3 separate regions of the Homo sapiens genome follow, and all the other regions are linked to region 3. The links are contacts of gene promoters, found by promoter capture Hi-C in blood cells and fetal thymus (Javierre and others, 2016). All regions are on one chromosome and are shown on one strand. The core of a region is centred on a gene start or on the middle of the fragment in contact, and the rest is flanking DNA. Distances in the headings are between cores, read along the strand shown. Region 1 holds the start of ARHGEF33 (Rho guanine nucleotide exchange factor 33). Region 2 overlaps ATL2 (atlastin GTPase 2). Region 3 holds the start of HNRNPLL (heterogeneous nuclear ribonucleoprotein L like).

What was found. Contacts are between HindIII fragments. The CHiCAGO score rates a contact against its expected background, and 5 or more counts as called.
Region 1: the fragment with the promoter of ARHGEF33 here is called in contact with the fragment with the promoter of HNRNPLL in region 3 in 10 of 17 cell types (total B cells, naive B cells, naive CD8 T cells and 7 more); the score reaches 14.4 in total B cells.
Region 2: a contact is called between a fragment that was not itself captured here and the fragment with the promoter of HNRNPLL in region 3, in 1 of 17 cell types (erythroblasts). The highest score is 5.1, in erythroblasts.

The regions. Positions count from the first base shown.
Region 1 is chr2:38,887,696-38,892,466 of GRCh38, reverse strand. ARHGEF33 (Rho guanine nucleotide exchange factor 33) reads right to left here and starts at 2,592. Exons shown (of 18, transcript NM_001145451.5): 1 at 2,481-2,592. The HindIII fragment of the contact is 7,511 bases long and covers 1-4,771 here.
Region 2 is chr2:38,321,930-38,326,323 of GRCh38, reverse strand. The region is part of intron 2 of ATL2 (atlastin GTPase 2); the gene reads left to right. Among named protein-coding and RNA genes, the nearest start is that of ATL2, 53 kb to the left of the region's middle. The HindIII fragment of the contact is 2,784 bases long and covers 1,101-3,884 here.
Region 3 is chr2:38,600,816-38,605,851 of GRCh38, reverse strand. It overlaps HNRNPLL (heterogeneous nuclear ribonucleoprotein L like), which reads left to right and starts at 2,924. Exons shown (of 13, transcript NM_138394.4): 1 at 2,924-3,414. The coding sequence starts at 3,226. RefSeq lists silencers at 2,745-2,814, 3,035-3,084, 3,105-3,204. The HindIII fragment of the contact is 8,602 bases long and covers 1-5,036 here.

The sequences.
Region 1 (4,771 bases), core at 1,343-3,842, 290 kb before region 3:
GTACTTAGCAGATGTCAGTTAGGTTTTTCTACTTTTCCCCAGTTATCTGTTTACCCACCTTTAGGCATCATCTCTACCCACCCCACCTACTCACACACTCCATAAAAAACCCAGTGAAAATTACGAGGAGGAGATTTTTTTAGAGAGCATAAGAATTTTCCAGTATTTGCTTCTTCATTGCTTGCTAAAACCATGCCAGCATAGCCTGGGGAAAGGTGGAAAGGGCTGGCATTGCCCCATATAAGGGAATTATATCCTCAAATCATTTGAGATAAGTAGGCCCCAAAGACAAATCCAAAACAGCTACTCCCTCATTCTCAGGAAATAAATTCTAGAGATTTCCTCAAATGGATAAATTTGAGAATCCGATTAGCTGCCACTTTTTCTTTATTTTTCTGATTATTTTAGGAAGACTCAAACAGATGTTAATACTTACTACCCTGTCTTTTTGTCAGTAAAGGCATGAACAGACAACAAAATAATCATGAACATACCAATCAGAAGAGTGCTCTCTGTAATATTAGCATTTATGATTTGTTTCGTTCATCTTATTTGGGGCATTCAAAGTGCTTTACAAATAACATAATGAGGGTTTTTTTTCCTTCCATGACTCCCAAGGTGATTCCTGGCACTCTCAAAAGGCACAAGTGATTAGTCAAGTCCTTGGGGCCCAGCAGCAGTAATGTGATGCATGTTGGTTAAACTGTGTTTCACACTCATGTAAATTGTGTGGGGGGCGGGTGGGGAATCTTCCACACTGTCCTTGAGAAGATTAGCAAGAATTATGAATTTAAAGATTCTTACATTTATAAAAATCCAAACAAAGAGAAATATTGAACAAATCATACTCCAGTCCTAAAATCAAAGTCTAAGGGTCTTAACCTGTGGTCCCAGGAATAGGGTTTCAGGTCACCTGTAAATCTTCTGAAATTGTATGCAAAATTTTGTGTGATTTTACTTTTTTTTTTGCAGAAATGGTGGACTGGTTTCTGAAGATTCTAAAAGCAATTCTTGACACCGAAAAGGTTAAGAACTGCTGTCATTAAAGAAAAAGAAAGGAAGGAAGAGGGAGAGAGGAAGGGAGGAAAGGAGAGAGGAAGGGAAGGAGGAAGATCAGTTGATCTTTGTATCTACATTACTTAGTTTATTACTGGCCTGCTATGTTGAAGTACACCCTTATACACAGAGAAAAGGGAAGGTAAATAAAGGGAATTAAGAAAAAGTTAACAATAAGGCCGAGCATGGTGGCTCACACCTGTAATCCCAGCACTTTGGGAGGCTGAAGTGGGAGGACTGCTTGAGATCAGGAGTTCAAGACCAACCTGAGCAACATGACGAAACCCCATCTCTACAAAAAATACAAAAATTAGCCGGGTGTGGTGGTGTGCACCTGTGGTCTCAGTTACCTGTGGGGGCTGAGGTGGGAGGATTGCTTGAGCCCAGGTGACAAAGTGAGACCTTGTCTAAAAAAAGAAAAGAAAAAAGAAAAAAAAAAAAACCAATAGTATGGTCATCTTGTTTCAAAAGCCTCTGAGTTTTCAAATGAGTTTAGATTGCATTTCCAGAGCCCATGGTTATGAAAAATGTAGACATTAATTAATTCAGTTTGTGAAAAATGTTTAGAATAAATGTGCATCAAAAACTTTTTTCTCTAGGATACATTTCTGATCATTATGTTGAATCCTTCAGAAGTAGCCTTCAATGAAATAGCTATTCCATTTACAGCAATATGATTTTGTATTAAAAGGGGCTATTAAAAATATAAAAGGGTGATATAGAGATTTCTACATATTCAGAATACTATTTCAGCATATAAAAACTCACATAATTCCAATACTAATTATAATAGAACGCTATTCTCACTTAAGACAATGTTTAAGTGAAACTCAGTTCTTCTCATTACACACCAAAGCCCCATGAAGTGTTTAGAATTAGGTTTCACCAATAAAGCCCCCATGTAATTAATCAGTACACATTTTCAATCAGGATATGTTTTTTGTTCTGTACATAGGGGAGTGAATGCTGAAGATTCCCCTATTCTTTTTCTGTGTTAGAAAGGAATAAACCAATCTCCCTCCATCCCTAATCTTTTTCATTCTTTAATTATTCTTAATCCCAAAGAGGCATGTCCATGTCAGATTTACGCTGTCTAGCATCCTTTCTTTAAGACTGCTCTCAAAATTTAACTCATCTTCAACTATATTTATTAATATGCAGAACAACTTCAGTCTCCAGTTTATCGATAACCTGCAAAGCGCAGTTAAGACATAATATAAAAATTAAGCAAGGAAATAAATGTTTTACAAATTGTTATAACTCTTAAATAAAAGTTATTTCTTTGAATGCCTACCTCAAATAAATGTTAGCATATATTGGATTTAAATTAGTACACCACGTGGTAAGGATTGATGGGTTTTCATCTCTTATAAAATTGTTTCCCCTTTCAGTGCCCCTTAAAGCATATAAAAGCGCATACTTACCCCATGTTGCCTGCGGTGGTTATATCATCCTCAGATCAAGGCTTATCTGGGTTCTGAATTAACTTAAAGGTTATAAAAAGAAGCAGTAGAGAGGCTTGACTTCCCCTGAAACGAGACCGTAGTATGCTAACCAGGCTTTTAAATGAGGAAAACTAGTGTCTCTTCTAATTATATAAGCTCCAGGTCAAATTCTAGCATCAACTAATCAAATAACTGAACTGCATTTAGTTTCAATGAGTAAAAAGGAAGAAACCCATTTAGGAGGAATATCTTTGGTATACTAGAAAATTGAAAAGTTGTACTTTGAAAAGTTATTAACATAGCAATACAAGTTAAATATTTTAAGAGTAAAATATATATCTTGCTGCCTTAAATAAATTGAAAAAAATTAGGGAAAATTTATTTTGCAGCAAAGCAGATACTTTTCTATATTTTCCAGAAGTTTTTGAATTTAAATTATATGTCCTGGTCCCTGAAAACATCTTCTCACCTTATCTTAACTTGTCCAGTATTTGTCTCTTCATGAATTTCCATATAATAATAATATTTAATTCTAAAGCCATGCCAGCTAATGTTTAGCAACATATACAAAAATGTCCAATTCTTAAAATGTGTCTTTGAAAACTTACAAATAGGGTCTTTCAAAATTAGCCATAAAGCTATTATTATGAGAAACTAACAAAAATGCCATTTTTATTTTAACATTTTAGAAGACATTGTAACCCAAATTTGTGCCAGTACAGCAAAAAATAAAAATATACATCTTTTGGCAATAACATATTGAGAAATACAAATATTCACAAGATTTTGAATAGAGAAATATGACAAAGAAGTTATCTATTGTGTACACTATTTTTTGTCAGTTTTAGAATATAGAGTTTCAGCAAAAACATTCAGGTCTTTATTGTAATTTTTTAAATGTAGTTGACATATACTGCTCTGGTAATTTTTAAATTATCTTATGTAAAAAGTAAAGAAGTTTTCTGGACATAGAATATATGACAACACACAGATCTACTTTTTAAGAAATTGAGACATAATTTACACATCATACATAAAATTTGTCCCTGTTAAATGAACAATTCAGTGGTTTTTAGTACATTTTCAAGACTGTGCAACCATCACCACTGTCTAATTCTAGAAACCTCATGCCTCCCAATTTCTTCCTCCCCTGGCAACCACTAATCTATTTTCTGTCCCTAAGGATTTGCCTATTCAGAGCATTTCACATAAATGGAATCATATAATATGTGGCCGTTTGTGACTGGTTCCTTTCACTTAGTACAATGTTTGTTTGTTTGTTGTTTTTGAGATGAAGTTTTGCTCTGTCACCCATCCTGGAGTGCAGTGGCATGATCTTGGTTCACTGCAACCTCTGCCTCCTGGGCTCAAGCAGTCCTCCCAAGTAGCTGGGACTATAGGCATGTGCCACCACACCTGGCTAATTTTTGTATTTTTTGTAGAGATGGGATTTTGCCATGCTGCCCAGCCTGGTCTCAAACTCCTGGCAAGCGATCCACACACCTTGGCATCCCAAAGTGCTGGGATTACAGGATGAGCCACCTGCCTGGCCAGTACAATGTTTCTGAAGTTCATCCATGTTGTAGTATCAGTACTTCATTTTTTATGGCTGAATAATATTCCATTATGTGGACATTTTGTTTACACATTCATTAGTTGATGGACATTTGGATTGTTTCCAGTTGGGGCTATTATACATGTCTTAGTCCATTTGAACTGCTATAAGAAAATACCTTAGACAGGGTAATTTTAAACAACAGAAATGTATTGCTCACAGTTCTGGAGGCTGTTAAGTCCAAGATCAAGGCACTAGCAGATTTAGTGTCTGGTAAGGACTTGCTCTCTTCTTCAAAGATGGCACCTTCTTGCATCATTCTCTTGTGACAGAAGAAGCAAGCAATCTCCTTCACATCTCTTTTATAAGGGCACTAATCCCATCCATGAGGGCTCTGTCCTTATAACCTAATCACCTCCTAAAGGCCTCAACTCTTAATACTACCACAGTAGAGATTAGGTTTTTGTTGTTGTTGTTGTTGTTTTTAGACAGAGTCTCACTCTGTTGCCCCTGCTGGAGTGCAGTGGCGCCATCTTGGCTCACTGCAGACTCCACCTCCCAGTTTCAAGCAATTCTTGTGCCTCAGCCTCCCGAGTAGCTGGGATTACAGGCACACACCACCACGCCTGGCTAATTTTTGTATTTTTAGTGGAGAGGAGGTTTCACCATGTTGGCCAGGCTGGTCTCAAACTCCTGACCTTAAATGATGCACCCA
Region 2 (4,394 bases), core at 1,243-3,742, 280 kb after region 3:
GGGAGATGGGCTGTGTTTAACGTGTTTTTTAGCTGCAGGTCCTAGAGGCTTCAGTTTCTCCTTATTCTCTCACTGTCTTTGGGGTTTCCCAAGAACTTTTATTGAACTCAAAATCTGTGTCTTGCAGCTTTTTTATTTGTAATCCACTGTCATTATATTGGAGCATTGTTGATGAGGTGGTAAAGTGTAGGAGAGCAGAAGCATCGTATGCCACCTTATGGTTAAATCTTAGTTTTATTTTTATTCTTTTTTGAGACACAGTCTCCTTATGTTGCCCAGGCTGGTCTGGAACTCCTGAGCTCAGTCTCCTGAATAGCTGAGATTACAGGCAGACACCACTGCACCTGGCTCCTTAGTTTTTTAGTGGGCCTGAGTCCTGGTCTATGACCCTCTTTTTTTTTTTTTTTTTTTTTTTTTAAACAAACAAACAAACAAAACCTTAAACTAGACAGGAAGCCTAGATGGGGCTGGAGTTGGCTAATTTAATTGCTCCTCCCTAGGGTCAGATAAAGCTCTGGTAAAGTAGTTTTCTCAGGAGGGCAGGCTTTTGTTGTGGGGACTGGTGTGTGTGTGTGTGTGTGTGTGTGTGTGTGTGTGTGTGTGTGTGTGTGTGTGTGTGTGTGTACTGGTGTGTGTGTGTGTGTGTGTGTGTGTGTGTGTGTACTGGTGTGTGTGTGTGTGTGTGTGTGTGTGTGTATGTACTGGTGTGTGTGTAGATAGTGGTTACTTTCCCAGGGTGAACTTAAAAAGTGTTACTTCCCCTCCCCTTGTCAGTCATGAGGGAAACTTTCTTCCGTAATTACTTTGAGAATTTTGTGGAGTTCTTTGAGATAATATTCAGGAAAGTGGGGTGTTTTCTTAGACTGAGCCTCTAGGGTTTTTAGTGCTTAAACTAGTTCACTCTCAGCTTCTGACAATTCATTGAAATTGCCATTTAAGTGTTCCTACCAGTTGCTGCAGCAGTTGCTGGTAAGCTGACCTCAACTCCTGATCCTTTGTGTTAGTTTGTCTCTTGTGATTTTGCAGGGATGGTTTGACCTGTGATCTCAATTCTTTGATCTAAGAAAGGAGAGTTTATTGATTTTTCAGTTTGCTAAGCTTTTCTCTTGTTGTAAAGATAGGTCTGATGACTTCTAAACTTTTTACATGAGAAAGCTGACACTGGAAGTCCAATGGAAGACTCTAAAGTCAAATCTCAGTTTAATTACAAGACGTGTCTGCCCCTTCCGTTTTGTTAGCCCTCAAGGGCAACTTTTTTTAAAATTGTGGTAAGATATACATAACATAAAATTTACCTCTTTAACCATTTGTAAGTGTACACTTCAGTGGCACTAAGTCTGTTCACATTGTTGTGTAGCCATTGCCACTATCCATCTCCAGAACTGCTTCATCTTCCCCAGCTGAAGCTCTGTGCCCATTAAACACTAACTCCCCATTTCTCTCCCCAATCCCCTGGCATCCACCATTCTACTTTCTGTCCCTATGAATTTGACTAAGCACCTCATATGAGTAGAATCATAGAATATTTGTCCTTTTGTGTGTGGCCTATTTCATTTAGCATAGTGTCTTCAAGGTCAAAGACACCTTTTGAGCAGAACCTTTTATCAAAATATGTTAAATTCCTCTTCAGCATGTACCTAAGTAGTTAGAGTTGTCCTTTTTCTGGGCTCATGACTTGGGTCAGTCATAATTTCATTGATTTGTCCAGCCCCAGATGGGAAGAGTTGGGCATGGGGTGGGAATGGGGTTGGATAAGATGTTAGACAGTTTTAAACTGTTTTAAAGTTAAATGTTTTATAATTTGTTCCAGGACTTGCAGAGTATTCTCACATATTCAAATGAAAACAGTAAATACAATTGGTGGTTAGAATGTGTACAGTATTTATTGTGTCCATCACTTTGGGTGCTGAGTGTTCATAACCTGTCTCCTGATTAGGTACTAGTTTTATACACATGAAGATTTTCATTTGTGGTGGTGTGGGGAATGTCATGCAACTAGGGAGGATCTCGCTTATTATTGTAGCACTACTTGGATTGTTTTTTTTGAGACTGAGTTTCGCTTTTGTTGCCCAGGCTGGAGTGCAATGGCGCGATCTTGGCTCATCGCATCCTCCGCCTCCCGGGTTCAAGCGATTTTCCTGCCTCAGCCTCCCGAGTAGCTGAGATTACAGGCATGCACCACCATGCTTGGCTAATTTTTTTGTATTTTTAGTAGAGACTGGGTATCTCCATGTTGGTCAGGCTGGTCTCAAACTCCCAGCCTCAGGTGATCCGCCCGCCTCGGCTTCCCAAAGTGCTGGGATTACAGGCGTGAGCCACCTTACCGGCCCACTTGGATCTTAATTTCATTCTTTTTATTCCTTTTACTCCCAGTTGTGATGATTTATGGCTTTTGTATGAACCTTTATTCTTCCAGCCTATCCATTGTGAAAGGGAGTCAGCTTGCCAGCAGTCAGGAGCGGGTGTGCTCTGATACATGTAGGCCTGGCAGGACAACCAACCCTTTGATCACTTGAGCCCAGGATGTCGAGGACAGTGAGCTATGATCGTGCCATTGCTCTCCAGCTTGGGTGATAGAGCAAGACCCTGTCTGTGTCTGTCTGTCTCGTTTTCTTTCTCTCTGTCTAACTAACTAAATAAATGGTTACATAGTTGTTTCACTTTGTTGCTAGGGAGTATACCTTTCCTTTGGTAAAATATGAATTTGTTTCTTACTGTTTAGAATAGGTAAGGTTTCTTAATTGCTGATAATTATATTATGTAGAACGTCTTTTTGGCAAGGGCTGTATTTATTCACTATTTGATTATACTTAAACTTCAGGCTGGGCATGGTGGCTCATGCTTGTAATCCCAGCACTTTGAGAGGCTGAGGTGCTGAGGTGGGAGGATTGCTTGAGCTCAAGAGTTCAAGACCGGCCTGGGCAACATAGCAAGTGAGACCCCATCTCAAAAAAAAAAAAAAAAAAAAAAAAAACTTCTGGTGATTTCAGATTGCCTTTTGCAGTTGAGTTTTATTCTATAAATACTTCTTTTTTTCCTATTTACTTTATATGTCTGGTGGAATAGGATTACTTTTGCATTTCTGAGTTTTGAGGCTTTTGTCTCCATAGTAGTAAATAGTATCAGATTAGTGTTTTTGAGTTTTTAGGTTTGCTTTTAGTAAATTATCACAGCAAATAGGGTCTGTTATCAGCAAGGCTGCCTTTAGCTCCCACTAAAATTCTCTTTGTGGGCAGGAATGTTTATTCTTGTTCACTGCTGTATCCCTAGAAAAATGGCTGGCACATGGTAGAGGTTCCACAAATATTTAATGAATGAATGACTGTATTTTATGAAAGCTGTCAGTGTTCACTATGTTAGAGAAATTATACACTTTTACACGTTTTAAAGAATCTGATTAGTTCTCTGATTTATTTTTTCATCTTTGTTGTTGTTGTTAAATAGAGGCAGGGTCTCTCACTCTGTCATCCAGGCTGGAGTGTGGTGGCATCATCATAGCTCACTGCAGCCTTGAACTTTTGGGCTCAAGTGATCCTCCTGCCTTGGCCTCCCAAAGTGCTGGGATTACAGGTGTAGCCACCACACTCAGCTTCTTTCATCCTTTTGCTGACTAATCAGTTTAGTATTTTTTTTTAAACATTTCCATTACAAGGTAACCTAGGAAGAGATGATACATAGTAGATTTTTATGAGACACCAATTCTTTTTAAAGTTTCTTTGGAAGAGGGGGCTGGCAAACATATAAGCCTATGATTTCAGTCATCTATACTTATAAAAATTTATTTTTACTGTCTTTTTATGATTGTATTGTTTCTAGGAATAATAACAAAGATCATATTTCTTCTGGATTTATTACCCATGCTCAAAAGGGAGTACATTGAAGCTTATAAGTAAACTTTTTTGTTTGTTTAAGAAATACTTAGAGTACCAACTACAAGCCAGGCACACTTCTCTGTGATGGGAATACTTGTAAGAATGAAACAAACAAAACTTTTGTGAAACTTACCTTCTTGTAGAGGAGATAGAAATAAGTAAAATGTAGAGTAAAACCAGAGTTCTCTTAGAGGAATTATTTGTGTAGCCTGTAACTTTTACAAATAATAAATTCATTAAGTACCAGATTTTTTTTTTTTTGACATTGTGGGGGAATGAGATTCTCCATGTCAGAACTTACAACAGTGCAAGGCACTTTGATAGGAGCAGTTTGGTGAACAAAGATGATTGTTTGTAGCCTTTGCTCTCAAGAGACTCACAAAAAAACTGCAAAACCATATAAAGGTAACTCCTTATAAATGGTAACTTTTTTTGGTATGGTAGAATCAGGAAGATGTGTGTTGAGATCTATGGGGAGTATCAGGAGCACAGACAAGAAGAGTAAATTAAAGATGGATTGTT
Region 3 (5,036 bases), core at 1,675-4,174:
TTTGAGGCTGGATTGATTATAAAGGCCCTTGACTCTCAATTTCCCTAGGCCTGCCCTAAGCCTGTCTCCTACTCCAGTATAGCTGGAGTCCCCTTTGAGCTGTGGCAATGGGAGCTCTTGGCTGCTGCCTACTTGACAGCAGCGAATTCAATCAAATGTTCAGAAAATAGTCAAAGGTCTGAGGCCGTAATGCATGAGAGGTTCCAGACAGTCATGGCATTTAGGAGCTGTTTCTGCTTTTCTTAGGTATTTCTGGCTACTGGGCAGTGTGTAATTTCTTTGTCTCACCTAAGTGAAATAATGTAGAGTATAATTTATGTCCTCTCTCTTTAGCTCCTCATGCCCTGGTGATGAGCTAGCTAGTATTTTCCTTATCAAAGGACCTACTGTCACTGTCTGAACAACTCATCTGCAACAAGCTCGCATTTCACCCATGGTTAACGAACTGATTGGTGTCCTTTAAAAATGCTTTCTAAGTTTTACTCCCTCAATATTTTTTTTTTTACTCAACTGGGCTACTTACAAAAAGAACAAAGTTTAATACTGGTACATATTGAATTCCACCTGCTGTTTGTGAACGCTGAGCACAGCAGCCCTAGGTTTGGCAAGGCTGGATTTCCTTACCCATTGGTGTGACAGTTGCATTGTAATGTGGTATAATCCATAGGTTGAATGCAGGGCTTTGAGAATTTAAAATATTTGCATCTTCACAAGAAATATTTGGAAAGTTTGTATAAGGCCTAGTAAATCCAGTTGTGAGTGAATAGAATTTACCAAACTAAATTCACCTAGCATATGAAAATGTACATAAAACAAAATTAACAGGTAGTTGCTCATACTTAACAAAAAGATATTTAGTGCTTCTCATCACACTCAATTATTTCACATAATATTCTATTGTTTTCTTTCTCCTAAAAAATAATTGTTTTAAGCTCTCAGCTCTTCTCTTTTAATTTGAGCAAACTAAAAATATCTTGAGAATGGCCCATCTCACCTCATCAAAGAAGTTTCCTTTGTATCAAGTTTATTAATTCACTCATCCTTTCCTGATCTTTGATACTGAGACTGCTATAAAAAGGACAATGGATGCTAAAGATAACACGTGAAGTAGGTTTGTTAGACCTTTTTTTTGACCCTTGGTATCTTCAGCTTTCTGAAGGCCAGGTAATGTCTGCATTCTGAATATGTTAGGGGACATATGAATCCATAGGACATATTTTAAGCAGAATTGTATCATTGTTTCCCTTGTTGCTATTTTACTTTCCCAAACCATTGCAGAGCTTTTTGCCAATGACATTTTCTCATCCGCAGCCAGCTCTGCCACTCTTTTGCTATTTCTTCTGTCGACTTCCATTTTAATTTAAAAAATAAATTTATAATTTTTTTAGTTCTGTTTTGTCAATGTATACCTGCAGCCGCACACACATTTGATTATAGCTGCATAGTGTGGAAAATCTTGCAATTAGATTCCAAAATGACAGCCGGTGTAATTTACAAAGTACAAAAGTGTTATGTTAAAGCACTCTCAGCAATAAATAAAAATAGCTTTTTTGGAGGAGGAAATAACTTTGGAGAGAACTAGGCTGGAGGAGGAAGCAATCTACACTCTTAGGAAAGGAAGAGCCACATCTAGGAAAGCATCCGAGGGACAAGGACAACAGAAACACAAGAGGCTCTTGATCTCAGGCAGTCCTCCAAGAGGCACCTGACAGAGGGCAGTTAGGTTGCCTTGATTTGCCAGTTTCTGTCCTGAAAGATACACTGGACCTTTATTTCCCAAGGACTACTCATTCAGCATTGTTGAGCACCTAAATTGTGCTGGAGATCGCACAGGAACTGGGCTTGCGAAAATGAAAATTGCACACAGTTCCTGTCTTCAGGCGCTCACAGAGTTTTTAAAACAGAACATCTTAAGAGGGAGTTATAAGGGGCCCTGTTGCAAAAAGAGAGCAGCAACTAAAATCTTGGAAAAGCCCTCAGGACACCACAGAGGAAGCAAGCTGTGATCACAGAACTTTGAAAGGCTTTTGTATCTTTCGACAATAAATGATCAAGTGAAGTAAATACATTGTCCAGAAGAGAAAGAATTGGGATGGAGGATGAGATTTTATATGGAAGGATTAAAACATATTTAACTGGAGCAGGGACTTACAGGGACAGGCAAGTCAGTAAAGGGCCCAGGTTACAAACGAGTTATAACCGATCAGACCGACGAGCGCCCGCGTGCAGCGCCTCCTGCCGACGCGCGCCTCGCAGCCTTCAGTCAATGCTGACAGCTGTTCTCCAACACCCAGCTAGGGGCGGGAGGGTCCGCCCACTTCTACCAGATTTTGCACACAAAACAGTGGAAAGACCATTCTCATGGCTCCAAGCCGTTTTCTCCCTTCATCGCCTGCAATTTTAGGGCTTTTCGGGGGGTATGACTGCAGGGATTTTAGAGGTTTTTTTCCTCATTCTCTTTTTAAGAGGTGATAAAAAGCATTTAAATTAGCGGCAGGGCGGTTAACACCCGCAGCCCTAGCCTCTCCGCACTTCTCGTCGCTCGTCCGTGTTCACTCCACGCCTGGCCTCGGGTAGGAGCCGCATAGCGCCAACGGTTGCGGGTCGCAACTACTCCCAGGCGGCGCGCCTTGCGCGCCGGGCCTCCCAGGACCGCGGCGAGTTCAGAAGGCGCGGGGAGAGAAGTGAGGTCGAGCAGCGGGCGGCTTTTGACGAACGGCCCTCACAGCCAATGGGAAGCCCGGTCGACTTTCCCGCCCCTGCCAATAGGGAGCAGAACCCGGGCCGGGGGGGGCGCTTCCCGCAGGCTGCGGCTGGATTCGATCCTGCGCGACGGCCGCGAAGGCGGGGGCGGAGGCTCGGCCTGCGCGGCTGGGAGCGGCTTAGGGGAGGAGGGAAGACCGGAAGCCACGGTTGCGTCCCCATCCTTAGATTCGCTCCTCCGGGCAGGGAGCGGAGACGGAGGAGGAGGAGGGAGAGGCTGAATGTTGGCTCGGTAATTGAGAGGAGCGGCCGCTCCAGAGCTTCCTCCCGGGGCGCCCCCCTCAGTCCGTCCGCGCTTCTCAGCCGCCAGTCTCCTGGCCGCGCAGTCCCCGCGGACGGCCGGGCCGCGGAGACCCTCGCAGAAGAGGCGCTGCCGGCGGCGAGGACTGGCCGGCGGCATCCGAGGCGCGCGCCCCACCGCCACCCCCACCCGCCTGCCAGCCGGTCCCTCCGGCCGCCGCCATGTCCTCCTCCTCTTCCTCCCCCAGGGAGACGTACGAGGAGGACCGGGAGTACGAGAGCCAGGCCAAGCGTCTCAAGACCGAGGAGGGGGAGATCGACTACTCGGCCGAGGAAGGCGAGAACCGCCGGGAAGCGACGCCCCGGGGCGGGGGCGATGGCGGCGGCGGCGGCCGGAGCTTCTCTCAGCCGGTAACAAAGCGCGGCCCCCCTGTCCGCTGTGCCTGGCTGCTCCCCGGGAAGCAGGGCCTCGGTGCGGGGCCTCCCGCTTGCTTCAGTTAGCCTTTTCCGCTGCGCCGACCCGTTTGGGGAAGCGCCCACTCTTCTCTTTGGGGCTCGTATTCTGGCCTCTACCTGTTTCCCGCATCCCGACTGCGAACCCGGCGCCGTCCTGGCCGCAGGCCCCGCAGCGAGTCCACTGCCGGGCCCTGAACTTGGGGAGGGTCGCGGCGCGGCGGCGGCGGCGGGGAGGCGTCGCTTCCGCTCTGGGGGGTTTCGCGGCTCGGGGAGCTCTTTGTTAGTTTAACTCCTCGGGCTCGGGGCCAGCGTCGGGACCACCGGTTCTCTTCAGTCCCTCTGCCCGCAGCAGCCGCGCGTTGGTCACCATCCCGGGATGGTTGCGTCGGTTCTACCGGGAGCTCTCTCCGCCTCGGTCCTATGGAGACCCGTAATTAAATAACAGATTATGCCTTGGCGTTCACATGCTAGTTCCCTTGAAGGTTTAATTTAAAAAATTTTAAAATTAAACTCTTTATAAGCATGGCGTGCATCCTTTGCTCTACCCAATTTTGTGGATTACTCAGTACACTTTTTACCTCTTCGGTTACAACACTTCAACAGAAGTGTTGGCAGCTGTTGGTACACCCCTACCTTCAAGTAAAACAAATCTTAAAATTACTAAAGTTTTTCATTGGTAATTTATTCCACATTTGCCCCATGAAAGGATGAAGTGAGCTCAGGGTTGCATTAAACACACATTCCTAGAGCCAGGTCTTTCTCTTACCAGAAATGTTAGGGGGAGGCAGAAGGAATGTGATCATTTTGTCCACAGCAAGTAGTTAGCTTCAGTTGGATGGAGACTTTAAGGAAACAAAGCGGAGCAAACGTTATTGCCCTTTTTTGGTGCACTTAAGCGGTTTTAATGACTTAGATGTTATTTAAACATTTAACACATGAATTGTGATTAATTCTGCAAACTTTAACAGAATTACGAAACTGTACACATATATCCTACTATTAGGTTAAAAGGGTTTTTACCTTACCTTTTAAAAATAAGACGCACATTAGAAGCCCTTTATAGCCGTTTGAATTTTTAAATAATAAAAAAAAAGGCTGGTCAGTCACCCAGCGTTGCAGTTTCCAGTTACCAGGATGTGAGAGCAAACTTTGCAACACATTTAAAAAAGGAACTTTTTCTCTCAGTCTTGTTACGGTGTTAGCTATTACTTTAGATTTTTGTGCCGAGCTATTTGAAATATTCAAAATGTAACTTGGAAGTGTGAATAAAGGAAATGGTTTTTTCTTAGGAAGTTTCAGTTCAAAGCCAACTCTGTTGTGGAAATTGGAAACAGGAATATTATAACTGATATTTCGATGTATTCGATCAGTGTACCTCGTTGCTAGAAATCTTGCTTGGGTTTTTGTGCAGCATCATGAAATGTCTTCAGGCATTTTGGAAAGATACTTAAATCAGATTATAAAAATTTGTTTTTGAAAACAGATAAAGCATTAAATCAATAGTATTATTTTGGATGTTGGGAAGAAAATAACATATAATTAATGTATCCAAAGCGAAATGTGTGGAGCGGTGGAAA